5 separate regions of the Homo sapiens genome follow, and all the other regions are linked to region 4. The links are contacts of gene promoters, found by promoter capture Hi-C in blood cells and fetal thymus (Javierre and others, 2016). All regions are on one chromosome and are shown on one strand. Each heading gives the region's core, a stretch centred on a gene start or on the middle of the fragment in contact. The rest is flanking DNA. Distances are from core to core; before and after follow the strand shown. Region 1 has its middle 12 kb from the start of SYT16. Region 2 overlaps HIF1A-AS1 (HIF1A antisense RNA 1). Region 3 overlaps HIF1A (hypoxia inducible factor 1 subunit alpha). Region 4 holds the start of PRKCH (protein kinase C eta). Region 5 overlaps HIF1A (hypoxia inducible factor 1 subunit alpha).

What was found. The method cuts DNA at HindIII sites, captures the fragments that hold promoters and counts their contacts. A CHiCAGO score of 5 or more calls a contact.
Region 1: a contact is called between a fragment that was not itself captured here and the fragment with the promoter of PRKCH in region 4, in 2 of 17 cell types (activated CD4 T cells and non-activated CD4 T cells). The highest score is 6.9, in activated CD4 T cells.
Region 2: a fragment that was not itself captured here is called in contact with the fragment with the promoter of PRKCH in region 4 in 1 of 17 cell types (naive CD4 T cells); the score reaches 6.2 in naive CD4 T cells.
Region 3: a fragment that was not itself captured here is called in contact with the fragment with the promoter of PRKCH in region 4 in 7 of 17 cell types (non-activated CD4 T cells, naive CD4 T cells, naive CD8 T cells and 4 more); the score reaches 15.6 in non-activated CD4 T cells.
Region 5: a fragment that was not itself captured here is called in contact with the fragment with the promoter of PRKCH in region 4 in 6 of 17 cell types (non-activated CD4 T cells, total CD4 T cells, fetal thymus and 3 more); the score reaches 10.2 in non-activated CD4 T cells.

Annotation. Positions count from the first base shown.
Region 1 is chr14:61,798,249-61,802,233 of GRCh38, reverse strand. No RefSeq gene overlaps it. Among named protein-coding and RNA genes, the nearest start is that of SYT16, 12 kb to the left of the region's middle. The HindIII fragment of the contact is 2,517 bases long and covers 1,159-3,675 here.
Region 2 is chr14:61,679,420-61,683,651 of GRCh38, reverse strand. It overlaps HIF1A-AS1 (HIF1A antisense RNA 1), which reads left to right. Exons shown (of 2, transcript NR_047116.1): 2 at 2,077-2,611. Among named protein-coding and RNA genes, the nearest start is that of HIF1A, 14 kb to the left of the region's middle. The HindIII fragment of the contact is 1,884 bases long and covers 787-2,670 here.
Region 3 is chr14:61,724,008-61,728,197 of GRCh38, reverse strand. HIF1A (hypoxia inducible factor 1 subunit alpha) reads right to left here. Exons shown (of 15, transcript NM_001530.4): 5 at 1,380-1,492; 6 at 543-745. The region is part of intron 1 of HIF1A-AS3 (HIF1A antisense RNA 3); the gene reads left to right. Among named protein-coding and RNA genes, the nearest start is that of HIF1A-AS2, 23 kb to the left of the region's middle. The HindIII fragment of the contact is 2,199 bases long and covers 1,755-3,953 here.
Region 4 is chr14:61,319,951-61,324,359 of GRCh38, reverse strand. It overlaps PRKCH (protein kinase C eta), which reads right to left and starts at 2,781. Exons shown (of 14, transcript NM_006255.5): 1 at 1,896-2,781. The coding sequence starts at 2,258. It overlaps PRKCH-AS1 (PRKCH antisense RNA 1), which reads left to right and starts at 1,542. Exons shown (of 5, transcript NR_186042.1): 1 at 1,542-1,825. RefSeq lists enhancers at 1,349-1,892, 1,893-2,437 and silencers at 2,399-2,568, 2,719-2,988. The HindIII fragment of the contact is 5,451 bases long and covers 1-3,678 here.
Region 5 is chr14:61,703,082-61,707,183 of GRCh38, reverse strand. The region is part of intron 1 of HIF1A (hypoxia inducible factor 1 subunit alpha); the gene reads right to left. Among named protein-coding and RNA genes, the nearest start is that of HIF1A-AS1, 9.3 kb to the right of the region's middle. The HindIII fragment of the contact is 3,401 bases long and covers 575-3,975 here.

The DNA of each region.
Region 1 (3,985 bases), core at 1,168-3,667, 480 kb before region 4:
TCTCCTGAGTTCAAAGTTCAAGTCTTGCAAGAATAGAGTGATGTGGCAAACACTTCACGGTTTCCATTAAACTTCAAAAAGCCCACACCTTAGATTTAGGGACCACTTCCAGGACTAAGGGATTTGCCCTAAAACTAAGGATCAAGCTGAATAGATCCACCCTGACAAAGCCTACAATCAAGCCCCTTTAAGTATAAGATGCTCTGTCATAACTTAACTGCCTTATAGAACAAAACTCAACACTCTTTAGAGGAAGGTGATAGAATTCAGAGTCCCTAACATGTATTATCATACAATAAAATATTAGTAGACAGGGAAAGAAACATGAAAATGTAAACCACAGTCAATAAAAAAATAAATCGGTCAATAAAAACAGATATACTCTTTGGGGGAAACAGACATACTGATGCCCCCAATGTTGAAACTAGCAAACACTTCAAGGTAGCTAAATTTGCTAAACTTATAGCACCTACAGTATAAATTTATAGTATCTATAAAATAGTATAAACCTACAGCAAAAAATGTTATAATTGGTGAAGAAATGGGACATTTCAGTGCAGATATGAAAACCATGAAGAAGAACCAAGGAGAAATGTTAGAACTGAAAAATACTACATCTAAAATTAAAGTTATTGAATGGGATTAACAGCAGATTGAATACAAAAGAAGAAATAATTCATGAACTTGAAGACAAGTCAAATCATTCAATCTGAAGCACGGAGAGAAAAATTACTGGGGGTGTGGGAGGAAGCCACAATAACATTTGGGACAGTATTAAGCAGTTAACAGACATGTAATTGGAGTCCTAGAAAGAGAAGCAAGTGAGACCAGTACAGAAAAACATATACAATATACTGGAAAAATTAACTGCACTAGGCACATCATGCAAATGGCTGAAAATAAAGTAAAAAAAAAAAAAAAAAAAAACTTAAAAGTGGCCAGAGAAAAAGGGCGTGTTATATACCAAAAAATGGGTAAGAATGAAAACTTCTCATCAGAAACAATGAAGGCTGAAGACATGCAACAATCCTTAACGTGATGAAAGAAAAGAGGTGTCTACCTAGAATTCAAATCCAGGAAAAATATCCTTCAAAAATGGTTAAATAAAGACTCAGAAAAACAAAATCTGATAGAATTGATCTCCAACAGAACTAAGCTTCAATAAATTAAAAGAATGTCTCCAGGCTGAGGGAAAATTGTCCCAGGTGAAAGCATAGATTTGCATGAAGGAATGAAGAGCAGTGGATAAGGTTCCCATGTGGGTAAATGTAACAGCTTTTTCTCCTATTTTTTCCTTTATTTAAAGTAAGAATATAACTGTATGATGGGGTTTATATCATAGCAGTAAAATATGATGACAATATCTCAAAGGATGGAAGAGGATAAAATGGGATATATCCATCCCTAACTTACAGGTAGATTTTATTACGTCTCATATGCAGATTGTAATCTCAGAGCAAATCCACGCTGTCTGATACTCTTCCACTGTGCAATGCTGCATCAACTGAACTTTTTTTTTTCTTTTCTCTTTTTTTTTTTGAGATAAAGTCTCACTCTGTCCCCCAGGCTGGAGTGCAGTGGTGCAATCTTGGCTCACTGCAGCCTCCACCTCCTGGTTCAAGTGATTCTCCCACTTCAGCCTCCCAAGTAGCTGGGACTACATGCACGTGCCATCACACACGGCTAATTTTTGTGTTTTTAGTACAGATAGGGTTTCACCATGTTGGCCAGGCTGGTCTTGAACTCCGGACCTCAGGTGATCCACCTGCCTCAGACTCCCAAAGTGCTGGGATTACAGGCATTAGCCACCATGTCCAGCCAAGTGAACATTTTTGCCATTACTTGTTTACATTATGAAGTTAAAATATTTACGACTGTGTTTGCCATCATTATCATTTCCATCAAATCCATGAATAGAATGACAAATCCATGAAATGTTACAGGCTTGCCCTACTCACAACCCCTTCTGCAGAAAGCTGACAGAGTTGGGTCCTTCCCCATAATTTGCCCTGTCCTGAGGTATACGACCCTTCTATACTGTCCACAATTGATTGTATCAGGGATCTATGTCCTAGTTAAGGGGCATCATCCTTTCAGTTGGACATAAGGGAGGCCAGGCCGGGTGTGGTGGCTCACACCTGTAATCCCAGCACTTTGGGAGGCCAAGGCAGGCGGATCACTTGAGGTCAGGAGTTCAAGACCAGCCTGGCTAACATGGTGAAACCCCATCTCTACTAAAAATACAAAAATTAGCCAGGTGTGGTGGTGCGCATCTGTAATCCTAGCTATTCAGGAGGTTGAGGCAGGAGAATTGCTTGAGCACAGGAGGTGGAGGTTGCAGTGAGCCGAGATGGCACCACTGCACTCCAGCCTGGGCCACAGAGCAAGACTCTGTCTCAAAAAAAGTGGGGGAGGGAGGCGGGGCTGGGTGTGGTGGCTCACACCTGTAATCCTAGCACTTGGGGAGGCCAAGAGGAGTAGATCCTGAGGTCAAGAGTTTGGGACCAGCCTGGCCAACATGGTGAAACCCCGTCTCTATTAAAAATACAAAAAAAAAAATTAGCCGGGCGTGGTGGCACATACCTGTAGTCCCAGCTACTTGGGAGGCTGAGGCAGGAGAATCACTTGAACCTGGGGGGTGGAGGTTGCAGTGATCCAAGATTGCGGCTCTTCACTCCAGACTGGGTGAAAGAACGAAACTCCATCTCAAAAAAAAAAAAAAAAAAAAAAAAGGAGGCCAGTAGCCAGAATAATCTGCACCCTATCAGGGAGCTCTATTTTGGATTATAACTAATAGAATCAATCTGATCCTCTTTCAGGGACTATAGAGAACAAGAGAAGTAGCAAAGGGGAAAGTGGGCAGGGAAGCTGGAGAGCACATGAATAAGAGGATGCACATTGTAACTACAGGGCAATAGACATCCACTTCAAAAGCAAGGACTCAGCCCAGCCGTCTAAGCTGCTGGTGTTCACTACATTTTTTTTCCAGCTCTCCAAGAAGTTGTGCCTCTGATCAAGTATTAAAATAAGCCTCCAGCATTTAAGATAATGTCAATGTGACTTTGTTCCTTGTAACTTAAAGGACGCAGCCCGAATTCATCATAAAAAGAAAAATTCAGACCTGCAATATACAGCACATTAAAATAAATAAGTCAGGCATAAAAAATACCACATAAAAAAAATTATACAACCCGAAGTCGAGGCTTTGACATTTACTTTCATAAAGGGAATAAGAAAAATGTGCAATGAAAATTACTCTATAGTTGTTCAAAAGATGAAATGAAAACGTGTTCAAAATGAAAACGTGAATACTTAAGCACCCACAGAGTTTGCTCAATGGCATTTAAAAAGCAAGCATTCTTTAAACTAGAATTCAAGAATCAAGGGTAAGTTAGGAAGGCATTAGTAATTATGCTTATTTTCCTGGGCTCTTTACATCAAAATGAAAGTAATTTCCAGCCCATAAAGCTCATTTTTAAAGATACCGCAATTAAAGATATTTTATCTCTATATACATGTGTAAATCTTTTGTCATAACCAAAATAGGTTATTGGAAATAAAATATGTATTGTAGCCAATTCAAGTTAAAAAAAAGAAACCTGGGTCTCCTTCAGTTGTCAAGCCATGAGAGCTTGGTCTCATATCAATCTGAAGATCTGTGTAAACACATAAGCTTTCAATTATTATAACTTTAAAAAGCCGCTTCAAAAGTCACCACACAATTACTTTGGTTTCCTTGGCATCCAAGTACTTTTTAAAAGCTTACTTTTTAGCTGTAATTATTTTGAAGTTTAGCGTTTATATCTTTGCATTTCCATTTCCAAAGCACTCTGCAGTTCTTAATATTTTTGAACAAGTCAGTAAAATAGTTTTGTAGCACTTTAAAGTTTTTAACGTAGTTCCCTAATAAATCGCTGTTCTGAAAAATCCCTATATAAGACAAAGCCTTTGCTCAAAAGTTTGTTCATTGTCTTTCCTTTTGCTT
Region 2 (4,232 bases), core at 479-2,978, 360 kb before region 4:
TATCTTTTACATTTAATTGCAAATAAAATTAGATTTCTCTAGGCAGGTTAGCAAGGAGACATTTAATAGCTAGGAAGACAAACTTTTATAGAATGAGAACCTTAGATATTAGTTTGCTTCAGGAAAACCCCACCATATCAATTTCCTTATCTGTTTGTGAAAGCTATCAACCTTAAATGAGAGGTAAATAGAGAAAATTACTTTCCACCTATATTCACTATTCCAACCAGTTAGAAGATTAGGGTTTTTCTTTCCTTTGTCCTTACTATCTATGGAGTGACTACAATGATTTCGCATCTCATACATCATTTTTCAGCAGCAAGGACACTATATCTCTTTATCGTAAATGACTAACAATTTCAAAATCCAGTTCAAACCAGCTTAGATATATCTGGTTTTTATGAAAGCAAAGGGTGAAAAATAGCCAATGAATCTAAGAATTCTTCTACTATAGAATTCACCTGCTAGATTTTGACCAAGCTACCATGACATGAATTAATATTATATAGTTATTTTTTTATTTGGGGCCAAAATTTAAATGTGTTCATATGTCTCTACAGGAGAAACATCTTCAAGTTCTATATACAGTCTGCTGAACTTCTGCCAAAACACTGCTGAACAATAACTCTTGTTAATTGGTGAATCTTCCAGAATTTTTGTGCATTTCCATCCTATTTTGTTTCAATGCTACGAAGAAAACTCTTTTTCTCGTATAATAATAATACAGGCAGTCAGGTGATGGAGAGTAGGTGAGAGAATCTCAAAATAAATCTTAGGACACAAGCTTTTACTTCTATAAGCTATTGTGACACAGTCATTCTCCCAAAAACAACTGTGGTTTCTATCAGGAAGAAAAACGCTATCAAAACATTGAAAATGCCAGTGAACGTGGCATTTAAAAGTTATTTTTTCCCCTAACTGTTAATTTTCACTACAAGTTGTATCTTTTTTATTTGAGGATTTTTACTATTTTAAAATGAAAAACTGTAATGGAAGAATTACAGCAGAAAAGAAAGAAGGATCATACATAGCTTAATATTTATCCTAACTTGGTTTTCTTCCCATGTGCCCTAAGCCACTGGCAATTCATATTTTCCAAATTTTGGGTGGATAATGTTTTCCCTTTGATTTTTTTTTGTGGGTAATGAAGGAACATTAGCTGTTTGGCTCTTATATTGGAAAACTTATAAAGTTTCCTTTGGTTAAGTGTGTCAGAACTTGTCTACGAAGAAGCAGAAGCAGTCACAAGAAGTTGATTAATTTTATACCTGGACTTGCAAAGACAGGTTAGCTACTCTCTTGTGTGAGTGTAAATTACATGGCAGTATCAAGTAAGCCAGAACTTCACAGGATTATCTTATTACAGGGATCATGATATTAAATAGGTACAATGTGCCAAGTTTTGGGGTGGATCTTGGGAATTGCAGACACCCTCTAACGTTACCTGGACCAACACTTTCTGGTCCTGACTATACCTCCGCCCCTCACTTTTTGTCTGCTCTTCTAGGATCATAAGAGACAAAAGGAAGACCATCCAGTGGGTTGTATCTGTGTTTAGACAGACAAGCATCTGGATTCTTCAACTGACTGTCTCTACCACATCCCCCATGTGACCAGGCAAACAGAACATTTTCTGATTTTGCTGCACAGACATTCTCCAAGCCCTGTTCCAGATCCTCTTAGCGAGATCTATTGCAACTCGGTTCAGGAACAAGAGTTTGCTTGCCTCAAGATCTTGTTGCTATTGATACTTCATTGATACTTGCTGCTGGAGCAAAGACAAATCCCAGTGCTTGGCTATCTGAGGAACTGTGGGAGGAAATAAGCTGAGAAAACTATGCCTTGGAATAACAGAAGTCCACCCTAAAACACTATTATATTATATTGGTGTAGTGGTGGATACATGAATGTATGCATATCTTAAATCAAGCTCACACAAAATGACTTATTTTATTGTATGTAAATTTTACCTCCATAAAGTTTGTTAGAAATGATACTGTCATAAAGAGGCTCACCACCTGTTCACTGTATTGCTCTTCTAATTTCTGTTCCTTTCCTTCATGCGATCCTCACCAGACTACAGTTCAACTGTCAATTGGTTGATCACCCGGATTTTATCTACACCTTAGCCTATGGTTGTTCATCTCGTCTCTGCCTATGGCCCATTGACTCCCGGATCCCAGCTCCATTCTTCGGTACTTTACGCACCCTGCTTCCAGTACCCCAACCAGAAGAATATATATAGCAGTTAACTGTCAGCTGGCGAAAAGGAGGAAAATTCAGGAAGATAAAATAGCTGAATGAATTATCCCCGCTCCAGAACGCAGAGGAAAAATGAAATGGCCAGACCCAGATGTTAAAAATGTGTTCCTTGCTCTTTCCTGCCCTAGCAAGGGCTGTTCCATGTTTAGGGGATGAATGCCGCTGAGAGTATTAGCAAAAATACATGTGTCATTGAGTCTGAGGAAGATAACTGAGACATACAGGTATTTCTCATAATGCATGTGGGCATCCATAGACATATTCTTAAATGGCTTAAGGACTTGGAAACTACCTCTAGGAAACCTGAAACTTGAATGTTGGTCCACTAGGGAGAAGAAATGTTCCATTAGCCTTCCAACTAAAGAAATACACTATCAAGAAGAACATTAGCTGTGTGTCCTATAAGCTTGGGAGAATAACTTACTTTTATTTTAATACATATGTTACTTTTATGGTCAGTATTTTGGTAAAATATATGCTCTATTATGGCAGTAATTTGTCTGTCTTATTAAATGCTATATCTGCAGTACCTTCTGTGCATAACACAGCAAAGGAGCTCAATAAATATCATTTTGTTGCTGCCCTAAAAAGAGTTCCAGGAGCACTGGTGTGTAGAAGCTCTGGAAATAAGGAATGGTGTGAATAAATAAATAGCTTACTTGGAAGCTCAGTGAAACCCATGTTGGATAATTGCTGTGTTAACTAATCCCAGAAAAGGGAGAATTAGTATCCTTGAGGACAGTCTTTTAGGATGTGGTGAAGTGATTGCTATTTATGGATCAGGATCTTGAGTTCTTGACCTGTTCCACCATCCACAATTCTGATAACACTTCCTTCTTTATGCTTCACTTTTTTCATCCTAAAATAAGGGATTTGAGCATATGATCTCCAATTCTCTTCTAGCTCTAACATTTTATGACAAAGCTCCTTTAAAATAATTTATTTTACACAGTCCTTAGAAAATTAAGACTGAGAGGCCAGGCATGGTAGCTCAAGCCTGTAATCCCAGCACTTTGGGAGGCCGAGGCGGGTGGATCACGAGATCAGGAGATCAAGACCATCCTGACTAACACGGTGAAACCCCATCTCTACTAAAAATACAAAAAAATTAGCCAGGCGTGGTGGCGGGCACCTGTAGTCCCAGCTACTCAGGACGCTGAGGCAGGAGAGTCGCGTGAACCCAGAAGGCGGAGCTTGCAGTGAGCCAAGATCATGCCACTGCACTCCAGCCTGGGCGACAGAGTGAGACTCTGTCTCAAAAAAAAAAAAGAAAATTAAGACTGAGAAACGTAGAGTGAGTATTATAACTAAATAGGTGGACAATTAGAGTCAAAGACCAAATTTTTGTTAAGTATTACAAAGATAAGAATTCTTCACATTTGAATTGAACATTTAATATTTTCAAAGTGCATTTGCATCCATCTCCTTATTTGATTTTCAAAGCCACCATGCAAAACTATTTAATACATTGCACTAAGAAATAGGTTTATGGCAGGAGTTTACAAAGAAAATTAGTGATAAGACTAGGATTCAAATCTCCAGAATCCTGTTTTAGTTTTTTTCCTTTTAAATATATATTAAGTTGCCTAGTAAAATATTTTACAAATATTTATTTTGAAAATATAATAGGGCATTTCTGGGTTGGCCAAAACTAAGATTCCAATACAGCTATGGGGACAGAAATAGGCACCTTCCTTTCCATGTACATCTATTCCATTTGATTTGATTTATAAGGTTGCTGATAAGCCTTTTGGGAAAATAACTGGGATAGCATCAATAATTGGATCTCAAGCATACACAGGAACTTTTAGATAATGAAGAATCTAATGAGAGCAAAATAGAACAAAAAAAACCAGCTGAATCTCACAGACAATTTGCCCTATAGGGAAAAAGCCTGGTGTGAATTGGATTTAGCAACAAAAGCTAAGGGATTGAAGAGCAGTTCTGGGTTTTTTGTTGGTTTTAAACAC
Region 3 (4,190 bases), core at 1,605-4,104, 400 kb before region 4:
GACTCATCTTAACTTCTGGATAGCACCTAGTAAAGTAAGTGTTCATAGTACAGAGTAAATGTTCAATAAATGTGGCTGAATTAATTTACAAAGTTAATCTAATATTATAGGATGTATCATTCTGTTCAATTTAGTGGAAAGTATAGTTTAACATTGAGTAATTTTTTTTTTTTTTTTTGAAATGGGAGTCTTGCTCTGTCATCCAGGCTTGCAGTGTGGTGGTGTGAGCTCAGCTCACCACAACATCCACCTCCCAGGTTCAAGCGATTCTCCTGCCTCAGCCTCCTGAGTAGTGCCTGCCACCACGTCCCACTAATTTTTGTATTTTTTAGTAGAGATGGGGTTTCACCACATTGGCCAGGCTGGTCTCAATCTCCTGACCTCAGATGATCCACCCCCCGCTTGCCTCAGCCTTCCAAAGTGCTGGGATTACAGGTGTGAGCCACCATGCATGGCCAGCGCTGAATCTTTGCTATGGTGAATATTCAGTAATGCTGTAGACTAATTAAAAATTTCAAATTCACATTTTAGATCTAATTTACCTTTCATCACAATAAGAAAATTTCATATCCAGGCTGTGTCGACTGAGGAAAGTCTTGCTATCTAAAGGAATTTCAATATTTGATGGGTGAGGAATGGGTTCACAAATCAGCACCAAGCAGGTCATAGGTGGTTTCTTATACCCACACTGAGGTTGGTTACTGTTGGTATCATATACGTGAATGTGGCCTGTGCAGTGCAATACCTGTGTATGAAGAACAAAGCAGTTAAAAAAAATATTTACAATGCTAGGGAAAAAAAAAGCAGAGATAAGTAGTTGAGTCTGACATGGCCAGTAAGCTTTGATAAAATTTACTGTCACTAGTGGATTAATCACGTTTTTGAAAATCAATGAACATTTTTCCTATGATACCACCTATGACCTACTTCCTGCCCAGGGCCTATACATTACTCTTTAAAAAATTCCCCTCGTATAAAGTCTAGGCTGCTTTTTCATTCATCTCATCATCATGGCTGTTTGATAGTTATTTCTTGCACTGATGACTATGTTTCAACATTGAACAAAGATATAAAACCATGATTAATAGAAAATTAAGCCCTATCAGGATTCAAATATTGTGTGGCTGGCAAAGCCAACTGATTAAGCCTGGAACACCAGTGCCACAATTCACGTAATTTAAGTTTGTGCCTCAAATTGGCAAATTACTACACGGTTCTGCATTTTGGAGATCACATGCAAATGAGTTGAAGATATAAATGTTACATAACCAAACACCATGGAACTGTAAACCTTCCCTCACAATTCTAAAGTTATCTTAATACTACAATGTCTATGTATAAATAAAGTGTATAATCAATCACAAATAATTTTCACTTACCTTCCATGTTGCAGACTTTATGTTCATAGTTCTTCCTCGGCTAGTTAGGGTACACTTCATTCTGAGAAAAAAGCTTCGCTGTGTGTTTTGTTCTTTACCCTTTTTCACAAGGCCTAATGAAAGCATGAAATAAAGTTTTAAAGCAACTAAATATACAAATTTGTTACAATAAAAGTAACAAAGTGCCCATCACCTAGATCAACTGAATACCCGTTCAATTAAGTCTCAGCATGAACACAGTAATTCATTCCCCTTTTACTCACTCCAGCACACCCAAGAGATCTGACACACACTACTCAGTAGCTGTGATTCCCTGAGTTGGCTGAAAGATAATCCATATTTGGGATAACAGTTAATCATTGAAGCCAGTAAGCTTAGTCAAATACACAGAAATATAAAAATGGTATGAGTTTGCTCTTTAACTGTGCTATCGGTACACAAGAATCCCTAAAGAAAGAACTTCAGCAAACTCTTCCTATCCTTTCCTGAATGTGTTAGCTCAATTTCTAATAAGCACTCTATGTCTTTATAGAACCTTTAAAATAACAACTTTCTTTTTAATAACAAATAACATTTTTACGTATCTTATTTTTTTCCCCTTAATTTATCTAGTAAAGCAGGCAGAAAATTACTTCTACTTTGTTACTATGAGAAAACAACAACAACAGATCAAATGACTTATCAAAAGTTACAGAAATAGGCAGGGCACGGTGGCTCATGCCTGTAATCCCAGCACTTTGGGAGGCTGAGGCAAGAGGATCACTTGAGGTCAGGAGTTCGAAACCGGCCTGGCCAACATGGTGAAACCCTGTCTCTACTAAAAATACAAAAATTAGCTGGGTGTGATAGTGGGTGCCTGTAATCCCAGCTACTTGGGAGACTGAGGCAGGGGAATCACTCGAACGTGGGAGGCAGAGGTTGCAGTGAGCTGAGACTGTGCCACTGCACTCCAACCTGGGATATAGAGCGAGAATCCATCTCAAAAAAAAAAAGCTACAGAAATAAAGTCAGAATTAAGTAAAGTCTATTCACTCCAATTTCAAACCTTCTATAACTAAAAATGAGATTATATTTAGGTGACTGAGAAAAGAGCATCTTGCTGGGCGCAGTGGCTTATGCCTCATGCCTGTAATCCCAGCACTTTGGGAGGCTGAGGCAGGAAGATCACTTGAGGACAGAAGTTTGAGACCATGCTGGCCATCATGGCAAAACCCCATCTCTACTAAAAATATAAATATCAGCTAGGTGTGGTGGCACATGCCTATAATCCCAGCTACTTGGGAGGTTGAGGCGTGAGAATCACTTGAACCCGGGAGGCAGAGGTTGTAGTGAACTGAGATTGTGCCACTGCACTCCAGCCTGGGTGACAAAGTGAGACACTGTCTCAAAAAAAAAAATTAAAAAAAATAAGGAACTAGCCTCTTGATTTCTTATCTTCATTGGTCAGTGTGCTTCAGAACACATATAAAAATATTTATTATTCAGAACCTGGACTAGATATTGTAGGCAATACAAAGATGAGTAAGATACGCCACCTTTCCTGAAGAAGTTAAAAATGTAGTAGATATAGTAAGGTCAACAAAAACACAATGTAGAGTTGGTACTTGAGACTTATAAAAATGCTTTAAAGAAGGATAGGGAGAGCTTAGAAGATAATTTCTAGTCAAGGGAAATCAAGAAGTCTTGCTTAGAAAAAGAGACATTAGAATGTCAGTAAGTAGAGATGGGTTAGAAGGGTATTCCAAGGAGAAGTAAGAGAATGAAAAGCACAGAGGTAGGAAAAATAGGACATGTTTGAAAAACAGCATATAGTAGTTTGTCCACAATGTAGAGTACACGTAGAAGAGTAGTAAGGCAAAGCTAGAAGGGAAGGTTAGGGCTGTACCACGGAGGGCTGTGGATGTCCACATGGAGTCCTGCCTAAATATTCAACAAGGGGCTTTAAAAAAGCACAATCAGTAACTTAAGGAAAATTAACTTAGCAGCAATATATATGTTAGAATTAGGTGACTGTAATGAGAGGGCTGAGCCAGTAGAGTATGAGGGAAAAGAATGGTGGCAAAAGACAAATGAAGAGGTAGAATCTTAATAGACTTGAAAACTGATGGAAATAAGACAGGAGAGAAATCAAATCTGGAAACTGTAATGCTAGTATATTGAAAAAACACTGTAAAGTAGAAAAGAAATGAGAGTAAGTTTAAATGTAGGCATGGTTAACTAGAAATGCTGGACTCTTGAGGAACAAGATGAATTCCAGCCTATACTCTATGAATAATGGAACTAGGAAAGATGGGCAGTCCTGGTGCTGATGCATGCCATTTGGGTTTACTTAGATTAAGAAGTGAATTTGCCCTCCCTGGAAGGATTTAAGAGTATATTTTTAAAAGATGCCATGAGAGCAAAGGAGGGGGAAGGGAAGGAGTGCGGGAGGGAGGGGGAGAGAGAGAGAGAGAGAGAGAGAGAGAGAGAATGTGTGTGTGTCGTGTGTGTGTAGGTGTTGATGGTTGTGGTAGTGGCAGTAAAGATCCACATGCAAAATCCTTTGGGTATGTTCAGTCCTTCATAAACTAAGCTTGAATTATACTGACCTTTGAAAGGAACCCAAGGCCTTTGAATGGGGACCTGCAGATTAATTTAAAAATCAAGGTAACTGAAAAGTACTAGTGTTTTCCTAATGAGGAAAAAAAAAACAAAAAACAAACAAACAAAAACAAACCATTAAAAAAACCTAAATTTTAAACTCTCTAAAAATAAGTCATATTTTGTATAATTTATAAATTCTAAAGCATTTTTCTAGAATTTATTTGGAAA
Region 4 (4,409 bases), core at 1,532-4,031:
TTCCAAAACACCACCAGTGGGTTATATTAAACATCTAAGTGTAATTATTTCAGACCATTATAAATATCGATATCTGATTTACACTGAATATTCATCCAGTGGAACAATAAGCAGCTCTGTACATGCCACCTAGTCAGATAACGTGGATCTTCCTACACTTATGACACCAAGAAGTCCTCATCTTTTGGTCTTCATGTAGGCTGCAGGTTCTCCACCTCGACTGCATACTGGAATCACCTGGTGAGCCTAAAAGTACGGATGATGGGGTCCCACAGCCAGAGATTCCTATCTAGAATCTTTAAAAGTGGGGATTTTTTAAAGGTCCCTGGGTGATTCAAGTGGGAAGATTATGGTTGAGAAGGACGAGTCTAGGCTATCTCCAGGAAGAGATGCTTCTCATGGCCACTGGCCAATCTGCACCACCATAATTCAGAACCTAGTTCCTCTAGAGCTTTGCCCGACCTAACTCCTAATCAGACACTAATAGAACTCAACAATTCCATCTGGATGCCTACACTCACTTCTATTTCATTTCCAGAAATTCACAGGATAAATGTAAATATCTAACTGTATTTTAGCAATTCCTCTCTAGTCCCCACTTCTAAGTACCACAAAGTAAATTAGGCTGAAGGGAAATTAACTCAATATAATTTGACGATTAAGGTTAGTCATTATGGTTTTTGTACTTCTATTTAAAAGAAAGGAATAGCTCCACAAGCCATCTTTAATTTTAGAAAATATACGGTAAAATTACTAATTCCACAAAGTATAAAATAAATACCTAAATGAGCCTTCATCACCATCCATCTGATTTCACCACTTGTAAATTTCAAACATTTTCAATACTGATATTGGGTTCAAAACTGACTCCCTCCAGAACTTAAACTATTAAACTCCTGAGAGTCTTCAAATGGCGTACTCCACTTTGCCAAACCAGACTACTTTATTATAATTATCATTCCATCATCTCAAAGTGGGAACGATGACACCTGCATCACAAAGACAGTGTGAGGATTAGGCAGTAAAAGCATGTTAGCACCGTGTAGAGCGCTCTAGAAGTTTTAATTGATTTACAGCAGAAATTATGCCTCCTGGGAACTATGTGAAAAGCAGAGGCAAGGGGAGAGCTGCGGGTAGCTACACGTCAATACCCAGGAACACAGGCTGGTGATGGGGGGAGGGAAGACAGTTAACAACCTCCTGAGGAGTCCTTACAGCCTCTTCTCAGACCCATAGCAGCAGAAACCCACACTGCAGGACTCCCACCTCGGACTGACTAAGTTACTTGCAAGTATATGTAAATCTCATCTCCTTGGAAAAATGCTAAATAATAAAACTGCCAACGTGCAGACCCAGGCGCTCATTTCCCTGCCAGTGTAGCTCATGTACCTCTGGGATGTGCAAGCCGAAACACGTGTGCACGTCTGAGCGGCTGAACCAACATGTATCCATAAACATTATGAATAATACTCGCGAGAATGTACGGCTTTCTCCTAAGTAGCGCTTGAAGCACTTTACCCAAATCAAGTCCCTTTTGTATCACTCCTTCCCTGCCTTTCCTACCTATCACTCTCGTGCTGAAAGTTGGAGCTCCTTACCCAAAGACTGGGCGGAAAGGGTGACCGCCCTGGACCCCTGCCCGACTTCCCGTTAGGCCAAGCCGCTGTCCTGAAAGGGGATCGTGTCCAGGCCGGCTTCCTGGAGACACACCTGCGCCTGCACACACCCACCGCGGTCGCGTCACCAGTGCCGCGGCCACGTGGACGAAGACCAAAGTCTGGAGGGAATTCCCTCAGCCACAAAGCGATGGGAAAGCGGGACCCGGGTGAGTTTTGAAAAACATAAGGGGAACGGGGGTTGGGTGGACACAAAGGGAAGGGGTCACCGCTACTCACCCAACCCTCGAAGGTGTCCGAGGCGCCGGTCGTGCGCAGCAGCTCCTGGAACTGCAGGGTGCAGTTGGCCACGAAGTGGTCGTAGCCCAGGGGCGTCTCGTGGAAGACGGCCAACTCGAGGTGGCCGCCGTCGGTGACGTTAGCGCAAAACTCCTCGTTGTACGTGGGTTTGTTGGTCTTCTGCTTGGTGCTGGTCTGGCCCACGCGCACCTGGTCCACGCTCACCGTCAGATAGGGGTCCAGCAGCTGGTGGCCCTTCTTGAAGAGCGAGTGGCGCAGGGACCAGCGGGTGGGCTGCAGCCCCACTGCCTCACCGATGCGGACCCTCAAATAGCCATTGAACTTCATGGTGCCAGACGACATGCCGGCGCCGCTGCCCCGGCCCCGGGGGGCCGCGCTGCTTCGCAGCGGGAGAACCGGGAGTCCCGTCTCAGGCCAGCCCTCGGGACAGGTGCAGGAGTCGAGGCAGCCCTGGGGAAAGGCAGCGCCTAAGCGCCCCTCGACTGGCCATTCTGCCTCCTCCGTGGGACTTTTCCCTCCCCTCCTTCCCTCCCTCCCGAGGTGGAAAGGAGGGGAGCCCGCCGCCGAGCCCTCAGCGGGCCGGGGAAGCCCGACCGTCCCTTCCAAGCGCGCGGCGCCTCCCGGGGACTCGCGCAGGACTCGCCCCTTCTCCAGGGCCGGGCAGCTCCTCTCCCTGGAGAGCCGGACCTACCCGTCCGGTGAGCCCCAGCCCCAAGCGTCTCTTCCCCCGCCTCCTCTTGCTTCTCCTCCTGCCCCCGCCTCCGAAGGCTCACGCTCTCCCCCACTCGGCGAGCTTCAAACCAGGAAGCAGCTGCCGCCGCCGCATCCCCGGCGAGAACCTCGCACCGCCAGGTTCCAAGTTCACAGAACCCCCGCGTCCGCTCCCGCGCCTTCCGGACCCCAGGGGCGTGGCCCGCGGTCCGCGGCCCGGCCCTGCGGTGGGTGGATCCCCGCGCAAGCCCCCGGGAGGCCAGTGCCCGCTTGCGCCGCCCTGCGCGCCCTCCTTGTAGCGCTGGGTCTGGCCGTGCGCTGCGGGTTAGGGGCCACCCCGGGCGCAGGCCAAAAAGGAAAGGGTTCGTGGCCCAGCCCGAGCAAACACCTGAGGCGTGGTAGACTGACCTGGGGAGCGATGGAAGGTTGGGAGGACGCAGAGGAGGGCGCTCCAGCCAGGAACCCGCGCGGCGAGGAGTCGCCCGCCCCCTCTCTCCCAACCTCCCCGGTGGGCTGGTGACCCTGCAGGGCCATCCCCAAGAGGCCCTGGCCGGAGGCGGGGGCACGGCGGGGAGGTTCTTTTTCCTAATATTTACAGGGATGGCTCATCCCGGGGTCAGCTCGAACGCATCCTGTTTGTGCGCCTTTCCTGCAGAGGCTAATTACACAGTTGTGTGTATGTGTGTGTTTTAATAGGGCAGTAGTAATGATGGAAATCCTGTTCGCCTCCTTCCTCGGAAGGTGTGTCTTGTTGCACATAGAGCAGGAAAGGTCGGTTCTTCTGGAGACAGACATGGCCAAGAGGTAATAAGTCTCTTCCTCTGCGGGTGGTTTCTGGTCCACCCAGCTCTGCGCGGCAAGGGCAGAAAATGTTCACACACACAGGCTGTCCCCAACACACACGCGGAAGAAATTGCCTCTTCTAGGAACACTCCAGCTTGTTGTATTTGCAGTCAGAGTGGGCAGCCTTCTGATGCTTCCCACCCCGTGGTCCCTGCAGATTTTGTCTCCGGGGAGGACCTTTTAGCCTACGCTGCTATGCCGCAAAGCTTGCTCCCTGAGGGCCAGCCACAACCAATTTGTTCCCCAAAAAGCCTAGGCCACTTTTTGTTGTTGTTGTTGTTGTTGTTTTTGAGACGGAGTTTCGCTTTTGTTGCCCAGGCTGGAGTGCAATGGCGCCATCTCGGCTCACCGCAACCTCCGCCTCCCAGGTTCGAGCGATTCACCTGCCCCAGCCTCCCGAGTAGCTGGAATTACAGGCATGCGCCACCACGCCCGGCTAATTTTGTATTTTTAGTAGAGACAGGGTTTCTCCATGTTGGTCAGGCTGGTCTCAAACTCCCGACCTCAAGTGATTCGCCTGCCTCGGCCTCCCAAAGTGCTGAGATTACAGGCGTGAGCCACAGCACCCAGCCAAGCCTAGGCCACTCTTAAGATACTTGATTACATTCTGTCTTGCTATACTGGTTCCCTCGGAGCAGATTCGGCTTGCTTTCATTCCTTTCTTTCTTCCTTCCCTCCTTTCTTTCTTTTATGTTTTAGAGACTGGGTTTTGCTTTGTCATCCAGGCTGGAATACAGCGGTGTGATCATGGCTTACCATAACCTCCAGCTCCCAGGTTCAAGTGATCTTCCAGCCCCTGCCTCCTAAAGTGTTAAGATTACAGGCATGAGCCCCCGTGCCTGGCCCCAGGTTCATCTTTCTAGCCCCCACTCCTCTAAGGCCCTGTTCAGAACTTTCTAATTGAGTAGGTTCTCAACGATTTCACATGAGTGCAAGGAG
Region 5 (4,102 bases), core at 1,026-3,525, 380 kb before region 4:
GGGGACCACTCTGAGCCCCTCTGCTCTAAGAAGATACTTAACGTGTTCTTCAAAAATGCCCAAAGAAGTAAAAGAGCAACGCTCAAAACTAGTTTGTTACATACTTTTCTCTTTAAAAAACCTACCCAAATGCTTTACAAATACAGGAAATATATCCACCTCCTAAGACATTAATACACCACATACTTAGAACTTAGTAATTATAAAATACACTAACTACACTGACTAGACTATTCAATGGTTGACCTGTGGTATATATCCACAATCATCAATAGAACTTTTTTCCCCCAAATATAGAAGGCCAAATCCCAACCCTGGAAATTCAAATTAAAGGCTTGGCACATCTGTTTAAAAAATAATATCAACATAATCCTGATGAGCACTCTTAGCTGTTTAAAGTCTATGTTTCATTTCTGAGTGCTTGTAAAATTTACAGATCCCTGAGTTCCATCCCAAAATTACCAAATCAGAATCTCTGGCGAATGGGTCCCTGGGAATCCATAGAGCAACTAGACACTCAGGTGATTTAACCACAGAAGTTTGAGAAACATTAGCAGGTCTTAAAGCAAAAGCTTAACAGGTAGGCCAGCAAATTTTGAAAAACGAGAATAATTTATTTTTAGCTATAACTGAATACACATCCTATAACATACCATGTTTGTCAGGCAAAACACTGAATATAGTGAGTTTCACAATACTATGTAATGTGAGGTATAATTGCTAAGAATAAGAAGCTAGCAGTAAAAGTCAATAAGCCAGCAAGAACAAGTGTGCGTTTAGTAAAACTTTGCCTTAAACACGTAAGTGCATGAGTAGAGTTCAAAGATGACCTAAGGAAGAATGTGGCAACTGAATTTTTTTCCAGTTCTCTGAAACAATTTTTTAAAAGTCAGCTTTTAATACCTTCATGAATGTCACAAACATTCAAGAGTGAAGAATCACTGTTCATGGTTAAGAGCTGTGTATCACTGACTTTCCCCAAATTACCTACTCTATCACTCTTCTTTCTCTGCATTGCTTCCTTCTCAGCTTGTAAATCCTTTTCTTTCTGTTTCCCTTATTTATATGCTCTTAGATGGTAACAGATCTAAGACTAGAACCTAAGAAGGTCAGTGACCCTAAACTTTGTGTGTATGTAGAAGAATGTGTCCTTGAAATAATTATTTGCTTAACTTTAATAGAAGATGCATAAATAATAATAAAGTACTTACATAACAGGAAAAAACACATGTATTGAAATAAGGGTGTACAATAGAAAGCATACCCTAAAGACTTCTTCTATTAAATATTTAGCTCTAAACCTTGACCATGATTAAGATTCTGGAAATGACAAAGGAGCAGCTCTCCTAAAGCAAGAGTCTCTGTTTTCCAACTATACTAATCCATCCTATCCAATATTACCAAATAAATTTTCCAAAGTGACCTTCTGATCCTGTTTCTTTGTCTTTAAAAAGGGTTAGGTAACACTATTAGTGTGTGGCAGATCTCAGATTCCACCTGAGAATCTCCACCCTTTTCCCCATTTTAATATGAAGCCCCATTTTTAATATGGCCTATGCCTTTCCACAAATCAGATGCTCAATATATAATTTTTAAATTAAAAGATTCAAGAAATTTGGGACTATTTTTTAAGAATAGAAGGAAGAAACATGATAGCTACCCTCAGATATTTGAAAAGGATATCAAACAAAAGGCGGATTTGGTAATTTATACAACTCCAGAGAGTAATAAATAGGAATTACAACATGGCAGTGCTTTGTTTAATAGAGTTAAAGCAGTGTTGAAGTTACACTCTATGAGAATTTTTAAAACCGTGTTTTCATTTTGGTGGCATTGTAAAAAAAGAAAAGGCATATTCTACATCATCTAAATGATCTCTCCATAGTTCTGTATACTTGCCTCAAGCCTTCTGTGTTTGAGGCTGCATTTGTTTATGATCAAACTGTTACCAAATGACCACTAAAAGGAACAAGGTTACATTTTTTAATGCAGTATACATACTCAGACTGAGGTCACTGGGTACATCTCAAAAATTCAGAGGATTATTTTGCTCCAAAAGAGATCTGAACATTAATCCTGTGTTAAGAAACACAGGAATAAAAAAGAAAATAAGTAGATTGTCTTGTGAGAATGTTTTGTGTATGTATGTCTGAAAATTCTAAAAGCAGACTGGCCAATGCGCCTGTGGTGGTTGACATTAAATAACAAAACTTAAACCCAAAAGTCTGTACTTCGCAAGAACCTCAAACTTTAAAGTGCAATGAACTGAAAATTTAAAAATGGAATATGCTATGAATGAATGAATGAACATAAAAAATGGAATGTTCAACTGTGGCCTAAGCCATCAACGATTCAATGCTGTACTCAATAAATTAGCTGCACAAATACCTGTTGAATAAATGAATGCACAACAATCTGTTACAGGACATAGTATAATAGTTAGGTGCCTGAGTCATGGTTAAGCGTTGAAGAAATTTTTTGAACCACTGAAATAAGTCAACTTAAATTATTCAAGAAAATATCCCTTCATCCATTCACAGTGAAGGCTTTGACTACTGGTTTGACACTATAACCATTTAAATATTTTAACTATGTTAGCTACAAAGGCAGGCAATATCCAACTTTCCTCTGCTAACAAGTTAAAAGACATTTAATGAGATTCTGGACACAAAGGACATGGAAATGTAGGCTTTCTTAATTTCCCCCTCCTTTAACATCCCAAATAAATAGCTTTGAGAACATTTTTCTTCCTTTAGTATTACCACTATGGAAAATTATTTTAGAATAACATGTCTATACATAAACCAGTATTTAGTCTGCAAAGGCCAGATGTTTATGGAAAAAAAACCAAGTAAAGGAAAAGCATCAGTAACTATTCTGCCACTATTATTTACTCACTGGTGGTGAATAGCCTTCGTCAGATTATCACAAAGAAGGCTTGAGCGATTCTAAACAATGTTGAAAACAACTTAACCAATACTATAATATTATGAATATATGGATAGTTTCTACTTAATTAAGCCCTTACTTTGTGCCAAGAGCTGTTCTGAGTGTTTCATATGAGTTGATGTATCATTTCATTCTCATAACAATCCTATAAGGCAATTATTCTTATCATCCCAATAAAGCAATTTGTGTAAGATCACACAGTAGAGCTAAACGATCTAGAAAAATGTGTGATCTTAACACATATTTAGTAGAGAAAAGGATCATCTTTTTCTTGAGATGAAAACCCTAACCCATAGAAGAAATACTCAACTTCCCAAAAGTCATGACAAGAACAGCTTGCAGAATGACTACACTTGGTAGAAAACTATAGAATATGAATTCAAATGACTTGCAACAAAAACTCATGGCCCATTAATTACTGGTCAAGAGTTCTGTGTATAGTAAGATAATATTCTACAAGAAGACCATCAAATATGCTACAATAAGACATATTTGACTCATGTAATCAGGGAACTCCATTCACATGGCCAAGTAGGGCAAAACGTTTTCTTCTAGGAAACTGATATATAGACACTAGAAGAGAGAGGGAGTTTTTTTTACTTTTTTTTTTTTTATATTACAAACTGTATGGATGCAGGTATGGGGATGCTAGCCGTCCTCTTCCACACCATACAGACAGCCTGTCAGTGGCAGAGTAAGGCCAGCATGCAAATAGAGCAAAGGTATACAAGCCAAGTAATATCAAGACAAAAGTCAGGGATTATTACACTCTGAGATCATTTGAGACTCTAGATTTGTCTCTTAAACCAAAATTAGATTGTGTTAGCCAATGACTACATTTTCCCCTCTTAAACTAGATTGAGTTGTATTTTGCTACTTGCAATAAGAAGAATCCTAATATACTTATCAAATTGCCAGTGTTCCAAATTTAAAACTTTAATGATGATAAAGTTCAAGAAAATGACACTCTAAAATACAACTAGGTCAAACTTTCTAGAAGATAAACAGGCAATTACATTGAAAGCTTTAAAATGGATACTTTTTGACCCTGTAATTCTACTTCTTCTAATTTATTATTAAGAAAGAACCATGAGGCCGGGCATGGTGGCTCACGCCTGTAATCTCAGCACTTTTCTCACTTTTTTGAGAATAG